2 separate regions of the Homo sapiens genome follow, and region 2 is linked to region 1. The links are contacts of gene promoters, found by promoter capture Hi-C in blood cells and fetal thymus (Javierre and others, 2016). All regions are on one chromosome and are shown on one strand. The core of a region is centred on a gene start or on the middle of the fragment in contact, and the rest is flanking DNA. Distances in the headings are between cores, read along the strand shown. Region 1 holds the start of PSKH1 (protein serine kinase H1). Region 2 overlaps CTCF (CCCTC-binding factor).

Region 1 (5,975 bases), core at 1,760-4,259:
GTGGCAGGCATCTGTAGTCCCAGCTACTGAGGAGGCTGAGACAGGAGAATTGCTTGAACCTGGGAGGCGGAGGTTGTAGTGAGCCGAGCTCACGCCATTGCACTCCAGCCTGGCGACAGAGCGAGACATCATCTCAAAAAAAAAAAGAAAAGAAAAAAGAAGACAAGACCTTCTTTTGACAAGGGAAACTCTGGGAAGAGGAGCCATTAGTAATAAAAGTGGCTTCCATTAACTGAGTGCCAACTTTGCTAAGGATCTTATATGTACCATCTCACTCCTCTCTACAAGCACATGTAGTAGGCACGATGATTCCTATTTTGGAATAAGGAAATTAGGACTTAGAGAACCTCAAGATTTCAGAAAAGCCAGAAACTGAATCCAGGTCTTTCTGACACCAAAGCCCATGCTTCTAGGCATGAGACCACAACAGGAGTCCACAAGGCAAGGCCTTCTCACTGGACAAAGGAGACAACAGTTTTCTTAGGCAATGACAAAGATCTTCAATGAGGAAGCACAGTAAAGTTACCTGGGAAGTTTTCTCAAAATACAGATACCTGGCCAGACATGGTGGCTCACGCCTGTAATCCCAGCACTTTGGGAGGCTGAGACGGGTGGATCACGAGGTCAAGAGTTCAAGACCAGCCTGGCCAACAGGATGAAATCCCGTCTCTACTAAGAATACAAAAATTAGCTGGGCGTGGTGATGCGTGATTGTAATCCCAGCTACTCGGGAGGCTGAGGCAGGAGAATCGCTTGAACCTGGGAGGCGGAGGTTGCAGTGAGCCGAGATCGCACCACTGCACTCCAGCCTGGGTGTCAGAGCAAGACTCCATCTCAGAAAAAAAAAAAAAATACAGATTCCTACCCCAGATCTTCTTCATCAAAATCTCAAAGAGTGGGTCAGGTGTGGTGGCTCTTGCCTGTAACCCTAAAACTTCGGGAGGCCAAGGTGGGAGGACTGCTTGAGCCCAGGAGTTCGACACCAGCCTCGGCAACATGGCGAGACCTCGTCTCTGTTTAAACAAAAAAAAAAAAATCTCAGCCAGGCATAGTGGCTTATGCCTGCAACCCTAGCACTTTGGGAGGCCGAGGCAGGTGGATCACCTGAGGTCAGGAGTTCGAGACCAGCCTGGCCAACACGGTGAAACACCATCTCTACTAAAAATACAAAATTAGCTGGGCATAGTGGTGCTTGCCTGTAACCCCAGCTACTCTGGGGGCTGAGGCAGGAGAATCACTTGAACCTGGGGGGTAGAGGTTGCAGTGAGCCAAGATCGCGCCATTGCTCCAGCCTGGGCAAAAAGAGCAAAACTCCGTCTCAAAAAAAAAAAAAAAAAAAAACTAACTCAGACAGTAAGGCTCTTGATTTTGTATCACAAAATTATCCCAGGAGATTTTGGACTATCCAGGATTAAGAGGCTGTACTACCTACCACACACATACGCTGGCATTTGCTGTGCTCATCTTAGATCCTAGCCCTGATAGGTGCTCAAAAATACAGTTGAATCTATCCATTCATAAGTCAGCATTCAGCAAATGCTACTGGAGGCTAGCCCCTATTTTATGCCAGGCACAGAGCCAGACATATGCAGACAGAAGACCACCATGTGACACAACAGGATGTACTCAATAGTAGCAGCATGGATATAGAGGAGTTAATGGTTACATGCCAAGCAAGGTAGATTTTTTTCCTAGGAAGTGACATCTCAGGTGGATTTTATAGGACAGATGTAAGTTTCCAACACTGGTAGGTGGTCGGTGGGGTGGAAGGCAGTGTATAGCAAACTGAGAAAACTGCGTTATCTAAAGCACAAGGGGACCAAGCACAGTGGCTCACGCTTGTATTAATAATCTCAATATGTTAGGAGCCTAGGCAGGAGGGTCTCTTGAAGCCAGCTCTGGCAACAAAGCCAGACTCCCTGGCTCTACAAAAAATTTTAAACTTAGCCAGGCGTGGAGGGGAGTGCCTCTTGTCTCAGCTACTCGGGAGGTTGAGGCGGGAGGATCATTTGAGTCCAGGAGTTCAAGGCTGCAGTGAGCTATGAATGAGCCATTGCACTCCAGCTTGGGCAATAGAGGCCTTGTCTCAAAATTAGTAATACTAAAACACAAAGGTATGAAACCAGAGCTAACAGGAGCGCCACACGTTTTAACAACAATAAACTACGTAAAGGGAGCACAGAAGTGCTCCGGTGTTGATTGGCTGGTTAAACCTTCACCAGATTACGAAGAGCCCTGAATGCCTTGCTAAGAAGTGCGGCCTTTGTCCTGAAGGCACTAAGGAACTAGTTTCAGGCAGTGAAGGACTTACTCAGATTTTCAGGTGGGAATTATCACTTCAGCCGCTTTATGGAGGGGGACTAAGTGTGGGGGACTAGGCTTCCCCTTGCAGGTAGAGGAATGACAAGCTTGCCAAGCAAGCAACCCAGCTGGACTCAGACCTGCTATTTCCCAGCCTGCACAAGGAAGCGATCAGCTGCCCCGCCGGCCCCTGGCAGACGCAAAGGAGGGGTGTGGAGTAGGCGCCGGGCGCGAGAAGGCAGTAAGGACAAGGACAACCAGGTTGGATCAACCTGACCCGCTCTGGACGCGGGGCGGCTGAACAGCAAGCAGGCAGGGCAACCGACCACGTCCACCAGGCCCAAGCGGGCCTGGAGACGGGCTATCCAGCACGACAGCACGTTCCGAGGCCAGTCCAGACTCGGACGCCGGGAACCCGAGCAGCCATCGCCCGGCCTGCTCTCCAACCCTGTAGGCCCTGGCGCACGGGGCACGGGCCGACGCTGCAGGCTGACCAGGGGCAGGCCCCGGAGCGCCAGAAAGCGACCACGACCACAGTTCGGCTGCCCCTCCCGCCCGTCGGGCCGTCGTCCTGGGCCGGGCCGCCTCACCTCGCGCGGGCGGCGGGCTCTTCGGCGTCTCGGCGGCTCTGCCGGCCATCTCCGGGCAATGGCAGCGGCCGCCGCCGCCGCCGCCGCCGCCGCCATTCTCGGGCGTTAGCGTCGTGGCGTCATCACAGCGCGCAGCTGACGCCAAAACAAGCCTACGGGGCGGGTCGGGGGCGGGTCGGGGGCGGACTCTCCCGAAACTGGGCTACGCGGCTGGCGGATCTCCGAGCGTGGCCTGCCAATCAACCTCTTCGGGGCGGGGACGGGCACTCTCCTGAAGGGGTGGGTCTATTTGTCGCTCAAAGTAACTTGACCGCTGCCTGCGAGACGGGTCGGTGATAGAAAAAGGAAGGATCGCGGGAAATAGGGAGAAAGTTTCAAGTTTCTGGTTGGGGGAAAGGGGACTCTGTAATGCGAGCTTGGGTAAACAATGCTTTCCAACAGAGGTTTCTGGAAGTGCCTCTGGAACTCCGCAAAGGATAGACTTAATTTTCATTAACAAAATCTATTTTTTAAAACTGCACTTAGAATAATTTCAACACTCCATGTGTTGAATTTGGCCTCCATCAAAGAAGAGATGCAAAGGGTTAATTTGTAGATAGGTGAAGTCAATCTTGGGCCAACTTCTGGACTCATGGTTATTTGTTGTTGTTAATTTAATTTATATGCCGAGTCTGAAAAGCAAGCGGATTTTTAAAAAATTGTTACCATTCACAATGACTTCTCTATAGGATCAGAACTGGTTCACTTTACAGTCAACCCAACTTGGAGGGGTTAAAATAGGTGCTGCAGATGGTAAGTGCATTGTAACCTCCATCCATCTTCCCCATTTCAGTAGCTCTGTATTCAAATCTTTATTGAGTATGTACTTTGCACATGGAACTGTCTTTGATTGACTGTATAAGCTAATGTTATACTTTAAACCTAAAAATAAATTAACACCAATAAAACATTGTCGTCGGCTGGGCGCCACTGCTCACACTTGTAATCCCAGCACTTTGGGAGGCCAAGGCAGGTGGATCACCTGAAGTCAGGAGTTTGAGACCAGTCTGACCAACAAGGTGAAACCCTGTCTCTACTAAAAATACAAAAATTAGCCAGGCTTGGTGGCAGGCTCCTGTAGTCCCAGCTACTCGGGAGGCTGAGACAGGAGAATAGCTACAACCTGGGAGACAGAGGTTGCAATGAGCTGAGATTGCACCACTGCACTCCAGCCTTGGCGATGGAGTGAGACTCCGTCTCAAAAAAAAAAAAAAAATTGTTGTCTATTTTATGTAGTAAGGTTTCTTTCTTTTCTTTTTTCCTGAGATGGAGTTTCGCTCTTGTTGTCAGGCTGGAGTGCAATGGCACAATCTCGGCTCACTGCAACCTCTGCCTCCCAAGTTCAAGCAATTCTCCTGCCTCAGCCTCCCCGAGTAGCTGGGATTACAGGCGCCTGCCACCATGCCCGGTTAATTTTCTTTATTTTTATTTTTATTTTTATTTTTATTTTTATTTTTATTTTTTTTGAGAAAGAGTCTCGCTTTGTCACCCAGGCTAGAGTGCAGTGGCGCAGTCTCGGCTCACTGCAAGCTCCGCCTCCTGGGTTCACGCCATTCTCCTGCCTCAGCCTCCCGAGTAGCTGGGACTATTGGCGCCCACCACTGTGCCCAGCTAATTTTTTGTATTTTTAGTAGAGACGGGGTTTCACCATGTTAGTCAGGATGGTCTCGATCTCCTGACCTCGTGATCCGCCCGCCTCGGCCTCCCAAAGTGCTGGGATTACAGGCGTGAGCCACCATGCCCAGCCGTAGTAAGGTTTCTTACAAGATTTCATTTAAAAAGAACAATGGTGGCCCAGCGCGGTGCCTCACGCGCCTGTAATCCCAGCACTTTGGGAGGCCCAGGTGAGCAGACCACCTGAGGTCAGGAGTTGGAGACCAGCCTGGCCAACATGGTGAAACCCCATTGCTACCAAAAATACAAAAATTAGCTAGGCGTGGTGGCAGGCGCCTGTAATCCCAGCTACTTGGGAGGCTGAGGCAGGAGAATTGCTTGAACCTGGGAGGCAGAGGTTGCAGTAAGCCGAGATCACGCCATTGCACTCCAGCCTGGGCGAGAAGAGTAAAACTCCATCTCAAAAAAAAAAAAAAGTTAAAAAATTGTTTCCAAAAGTCTAGTGCAATAATTAAGGGTATAGACTTTGGTGCCAAACATACCTGGGATCAAATCCCAGCTCTGACACTTCCAGAGCTGTTTGACTTTAAGCAAGACATCTGCCTCATCAGCCTCATTTTATTTTTTAAATTTTGGCCAGGTTGGTCTTGAATTCCTGACCTCAGGTGATCCACTGGCCTCAGCCTCCCAAAATCCTGGGATTACAGGCGTGAGCCACTGCACCTGGCCTTTTTAATTTTTTTAATAGAGACAGGGTCTTGCTCTGTCATCCAGGCTGGAGTGCATGGCAGCAATCAAAGCTCACTGTAACCTCGAACTCCTAGGCTCAAGGGATCCTCCTGCCTCTGGAACAGGAATTAAAAGAAATTAAAGAATGTGTAAGTAGAAACTCAGTTGTATGTAAGAAAACCCAATTCCCCCTGAGAAAGAGAAAGAGCTGGAGTTCTTTAAAAATTAACTGCCTGTTTTTCTGTGGCTAGGAAGCCTTATCTCTCCTCCTTTCCCAGGCATTGTGAAGACCCTGTTTCACTAGCTGTGCAGTTACAAGGTCACTAGACAGATAAACTCAAGTCGTAAAACATGCTTCTCCTTGAAAAGTAAGAAATGATGTAATGCGGCCGGGCACAGTGGCTCACGCCTGTAATCCCAGCACTTTGGGAGGCCGAGGCGGGCGGATCACGAGGTCAGGAGTTCGAGACCAGCCTGGCCAACATGGTGAAACCCTGTCTGTACTAAAAATACAAAAATTAGCTGGGTGTGGTGGCGCGTGCCTGTAATCCCAGCTACCCAGGAGGCTGAGGCAGGAGAACTGCTTGAACCGGGACCCGGGAGGCAGAGGTTGCAGTGAGCTGAGATCACGCCATTGCACTCCAGCCTGGGCAACAAGAGTGAAACTCTGTCTCAAAAAAAAAAAAAAAAAAAAGAAATGAT
Region 2 (5,975 bases), core at 1,189-3,688, 320 kb after region 1:
GAAAGAGGTCGTGGGAAACTCAACTTGAAGCCAGTTGGTCAGAAGCTCTGAAGGAATGGGCTTGTGACTGGTAGGAAGGACAGGTGGTCTTATGGGACTGAACCCTAAACGTGTGGGATCTGACACCATCTTGGGTAGATGGTGTTGGATGACACCTAGTTGGCATACACTGTTTGGTGTGTGAGGAAAATCCCTCCACCCCATCTTTGGTCACGTAAGTCTTTTTTTTTTTGAGATGGAGTCTCGCCTTGTCGCCAAGCCAGAGTACAGTGGCATGATCTCGGCTCACTGCAACTTCCGCCTCCCGGGTTCAAGCGATTCTCCTGCCTCAGCCTCCCCAGTAACTGGAACTACAGGCACGCACCACAACGCCCGGCTAAATTTTGTATTTTTAGTAGAGATGGGATTTCACCATGTTGGTCAGGATGGTCTCAATCTCTTGGACTTGCAATCTGCCCACCTTGGCCTCCCAAAGTGCTAGGATTACAGGCATGAGCCACTGGGCCCAGCCACGTAAGTCTTCTTTTGTGTTGATGGTGGTTGTTATGTGAAAGCAAAGGAAAAACCTGGGCTTGAGAGTTTTTCCCTACACAAATACTACAAGGACAAAGTAAGGAGCAGGATAGCAGAGCTGTTCTATAGCTCAAATGTATTGCTTCTCAAACATATCCACTATAGAACCTATACAGAGAGAACTTCCCACCCTCAGGCACTCATGCTCATTTTGTTGAAGACCTATGTTATCTTAATCATACAGTTTTCATTCTGCTCCAAAAATGTCTATTTGTTTTAATATAACAATATTTAATATTTATTTATTTATTTATTTTTTGAGACGGTCTTGCTCTGTCACCCAGTCTGGAGTGCAGTGGTGTGATCTTGGCTCACTGCAACCTCTGCCTGCCTCCTGGTTCAGGTGATTCTCCTGCCTCAGCCTCCCGAGTAGTTGGGATTACAGGCACGCACCACCACACCCAGCTAATTGTCTTCTTGGGGTTTTTTTTGTTGTTTTTTTGAGACAGAGTCTCACTCTGTTGCCTGGGCTGGAGTGCAGTGATTTCAACTCATTGCAACCTCCGCCTCCCAGGTTCAAACAATTCTTCTGCCTCAGCCTCCCGAGAAACTGGCATTACAGGTTCCCGCCACTACACCCAGCTAATTTTTTGTATTTTTAGTAGAGACGGGGTTTCACCATGTTGGCCAGGCTGGTCCCGAACTCCTGACCTTGTGATCCGCCCACCTCAGCCTCCCAAAGTTCTGGGATTACAGGCGTGAGCCACCGCGCCCAGTCTTTTGTTGTTTTGGGGGGGGGGGCGGGGGGGGGCAGACAGAGTCACTCTGTCGCCCAGGGTGGAGTGCAGTGACACAATCCTGGCTCACTGCAACCTCTGCTTCCCAGGTTTAAGCGATTTTCCTGCCTCAGCCTCCCAAGTAGCTGGGATTACAGGCACCCACCACCACACTCGGCTAGTTTTTATATTTTTAGTAGAGATGGGGTTTTACCATGTTGGCCAGGCTGGTCTGGAACTCCTGACCTCAAGTGATCTACCTGCCTTGGCCTCCCAAAGTACTAGGATTACTGGGATTTTGGAGGCCTTGGCCTTCCAATGTACTGGGTGTGAGCTACCGTGCCTGGCCAATATTTAATATTTAATCACTGACCAGTTAAATTACTTAACTCACCACCTCCTCTATGACTATAACTGAAGTTCTAGGAAGATGGGTCATGTTTATCTTTCTTGTGACTCCAAGTACCCCGAAATCATACCACCTGATTCCCTAAGGGTATTCATATCCCAGTTTGAGAAACAGGGATCTAAGCAATTAAGCTAGTCATAACACTTGAAAGTGATTAACGTGTTCCTATAAACCCATTCCCTAAACTCTTAAAGGTTCGATTTCTCAATAGTTTTTAAATCAGCAACTTTTGGTATGCACTCTGTGTCAACACTCCTAAAAGAACCTGCAGGGCGTAAGTTATTTTTGGAGTGACAGAATACTACCACAGACCTTCTCCTTCCCATCTAGCAGGATAACAAGTTGCCCATTTGGAAAATAAAGGTTTGAAGAATAACAGAACTTTCATTCCTATTCCCTTCTCTTTATTTGCTCCAGGCAGAGCTTGTAAGAAAAATCTTAGTAGTCATTTAGATGATTCATTCACATAAGCTTATCTAATCCTGGCATTTGTAATTTCCACTTCTACATTCCTTTTTGCCATTACACATGTACGATTAAATTATTTTCACATTTTTCTAGGGTCTGAAAAAAATGTGCTTTCCGGTACCGTGAGAAGAGATAATTTTTACAACCAGAATCCCACTTTGTTGTTTATGAGATCCCAAAGCATAGTAGATTCCAATATTTATAGAAGGTCTGTTCCAAGTTCCATATAATGTCCATTATATTTTATAGCAAAAATTACAGGCTAAATTAAAATGATAATCACTGTCACACTCTGACGCAAAATGGGCAATGAGCTAGGCTAACTCAAATTAAGACAATTTTTATCCAGGATACCAGGTTCCCCAAGAACAGGATTCCATCTGTTTCTTATCAAAATTACAAGTAGCCACAGGTCATGGACTTTCTTTTCAGTTCATTTGCCAATAGTCAAAATACACATTCCAAGGGTTTCTACAGAAAAGCAGCCACAATTTCCTGGGATCTTTCTATGTACATGTTCAGAATAGTACTTAAAGCTTTACAAAACACATTCTCATTAACGGAGAATAGTCTCTGAGATTGGTGGTGTTATTCTCTCACAAGTGAGGACTACAGGAGTAGACAGGTTAAAGTAACTTGCCCCATATTACCCAGCTAGTATATCATCGTAAAGAGTTTCAAACCCAGGACTCTGATTATGAAGCCTGTATGCTCTCAATCACCTGATATCCTGCATCCCCTATATTCAAGAATTAGCCAACAAATCCTCCAACTCCAGGAGGGTTATATTACTACCATTTTTAAGATAGAAAAAATGGAAATAGCACTTACCTCTCCGTGGCTGCAAAGTCAGTTTGAGGAGGGAAAATAGAACCCAGCTCTCAAGCCCCTGGTCAGCAATCTGTCCACTAGCGCATCTTGTTCTTTGGCTTCAGGTCCGTAATCATTCTAAAAGAAAAGCACAAATCATTTTATGAAACACTAAATTCATACAAATACGCATATAGTATGAAAAAAAATGAGGGAAAACTGAAGACAGAAAAAATTGGGAAAGAAACAAAACACCTGTTCATGTCATGTCACTAACCGAGCCATTCCATAAATGTCCACCATCAAGCCAATAACAAAACATTCATTTATTTTTTCACACATTTGCTAAATATATAAAGGACTAAAGGTTTCTAAGTAGCAAAATAGTACTCCAGGCTCACACCAGTAATCTTAACGCTTTCGGAAGCCAGGGTGGGAGACTCACCCAGGAGTTTGAGGCTGTACTGAGCTGAGATTGTGCCACTGCATTCCAGCCTGCTTGACAGAGTGAGAGATCTTGTCTCAAAAAAAAAAAAAAAAAAAAAGGCCAGGCGCGGTGGCTCATGCCTGTAATCCCAGCACTTTGGGAGGCCAAGGCGGGCAGATCACGAGGTCAGGAGATCGAGACCAGCCTGGCTAACATGGTGAAACCCCGTCTGTACTAAAAATACAAAAAATTAGCCGGGTGTGGTGGCAGGCGCCTGTAGTACCAGCTACTTGGGAGGCTGAGAATGGTGCAAACCTGGGAGGCAGAGCATGCAGTGAGCCGAGATCGCACCACGGCACTCCAGCCTGGGCGACAGAGCGAGACTCCGTCTCAAAAAAAAAAACAAAACAAAACACTCCACTGCAATATTGCAACCAAATAATGGCACACATATTCAAACTACCAAAAAATTAATTATTGGCTGGGCGCAGTGGCTTACGCCTGTAATCCCAGCACTTTGGGAGGCCGAGGCAGACAGATCACGAGGTCAGCAGATCAAGACCATCCTGGCTAACACGTGAGACCCCGTCTCTACTAAAAATACAAAGAAAAAAATTAGCCGGGTGTGGTGGCGGGTGCCTGTAGTCCCAGCTACTCAGGAGACTGAGGCAGGAGAATGGCATGAACCCGGGAGGCGGAGCTTGCAGTGAGCCGAGATCCTGCCACTGCATTCCAGCCTGGGCAACACAGCGAGACTCCGTCTCAAAAAAAAAAAAAAAAAATTAATTCTTATGGCTGCAGTAATGGCTCTCTAACAGTTTATTTCCGTATCTTTAGCAAGTAGTGGTCTTACTGATTAAGTTTGTTCATGCCACAAGTAAAGGCTATGCTTTCCAGTTTAGTAAGATAACTGGGGAAGCCAAGGCAGGTGGATCACCTGAGGTCAGGAGTTTGAGAACAGCCTGACCAACATGGCGAAACCCCATCTCTACTAAAAATACAAAAATTAGCCAGGCGTGGTGGCACACGCCTGTAATCCCAGCTATTCAGGAGGCTGAGGCAGGAGAATCGCCTGAACCCAGGAGCCGGAGGTTGGAATGAGCCGAGATCGCGCCACTGCACTCCAGCCTGGGCGACAGAGCTAGACTCCGTCTCATTAAAAAAAAAAAAAGATAACTGGCAAAAGGAGCTTTTACTGACCTTTGAAAATCCTAGAAGCATAGCAATGAAACAGTTTTTTTAGTCGAATAACGGAATACTTTGTTAGATGGCATCTTTTCACCCTAAATTACAAAATGAACTGTCAAGCTTCAAGCAAAGGTAGAGTGGAACCTACCTCTAAAGAAAAAGAAAGAAAGAAAGAAAGAAAATCCCAGGCCAGGCACAATGGCTCACACCTGTAATCCCAGCACTTTGGGAGGCCAAAGCGGGCGGATCACGAGGTCAAGAGATTGAGACCATCCTGGCCAACATAGTGAAACCCCGTCTCTACTAAAAATACAAAAATTAGCTGGGCATGGTGGTGCAGGCCTGTAAACCCAGCTACTCAGGAGGCTGAGGCAGGAGAATCGTTTGAACCCAGGAGGCGGAGCTGCAATGAGCCAAGATCGTGCCACTGCACTCCAGCCTGGCGACAGAGTGAGACTCTGTCTCAAAAAAAGAATAAAATAAAATCCCAAATGAAATAAAGAGCTAAATTTGAACTAAGTGTTTCCAAATAGGCCAGGCACAGTGGTTCACGCCTGTAATCCCAGCACTTTGGGAAGCCAAGGCAGGCGGATCACAAGGTCAGGAGTTCAAGACCAGCCTGACCAACATAGTGGAACCTTGTCTCTACTAAAAAAAATACAAAAATTAACCAGGCGTAGTGGTGTGTGCCAGTTATCCCAGCTATTCAGGAGGCTGGGGCAGGAGAATCGCTTGAACCCAGGAAGCAGAGGTTTCAGTGAGCCAAGATCACACCACTGCACTCCAGCCTGGGCAACAGAGCAAGACTCAGTCTCAAAAAAAAAAAGAGTTTCCAAATAATATAGCCAGGTGTGATGGCTCACACCAGCAATCCAGCACTTTGAGAGGCCACAGCAGAGGACTGCTCGAGCCTAGGAGTTCAAAGCCAGTCAGGGCAACATGGCAAAACCCCGTCTCTACAAAATACATAAAAATTAGCCAGGCAGGCCGGGCACAGTGGCTAACGCCTGTAATCCCAGCACTTTAGGAGGCCCAGGCGGGTGGATCATGAGGTTAGAGTTCGAGACCACCCTGGCCAACGTGGTGAAACCCAGTCTCTACTAAAAATACAAAAACTAGCTGGGCATGGTGGTATGCACCTGTAATCCCAGCTTCTCAGGAGGCTGAGGCAGGAGAACTGGTTGAACCCGGGAGACGGAGGTTGCAGTGGGCCACCATCGCACCACTGCACTCCAGCCTGGGTGACAGAGGAAGACTTCGTCTCAGGGAAGAAGAACAACAACAAAAAAAAGGCCAGGCATGGTGGCTCACGTCTGTAGTCCCAGCACTTTGGGAGGTCGAGGTGGGTGGATAACCTGAGGTCATGAGTTCCAGACCAGCCTGG

Evidence for each region. The method cuts DNA at HindIII sites, captures the fragments that hold promoters and counts their contacts. A CHiCAGO score of 5 or more calls a contact.
Region 2: a fragment that was not itself captured here is called in contact with the fragment with the promoter of PSKH1 in region 1 in 1 of 17 cell types (erythroblasts); the score reaches 5.4 in erythroblasts.

The regions. Positions count from the first base shown.
Region 1 is chr16:67,890,288-67,896,262 of GRCh38, reverse strand. PSKH1 (protein serine kinase H1) reads right to left here and starts at 3,009. Exons shown (of 3, transcript NM_006742.3): 1 at 2,892-3,009. RefSeq lists silencers at 2,763-2,882, 3,213-3,272. The HindIII fragment of the contact is 6,871 bases long and covers 2,411-5,975 here.
Region 2 is chr16:67,568,287-67,574,261 of GRCh38, reverse strand. It overlaps CTCF (CCCTC-binding factor), which reads right to left. Exons shown (of 12, transcript NM_006565.4): 2 at 2,998-3,114. Among named protein-coding and RNA genes, the nearest start is that of CTCF, 8.7 kb to the right of the region's middle. The HindIII fragment of the contact is 533 bases long and covers 2,172-2,704 here.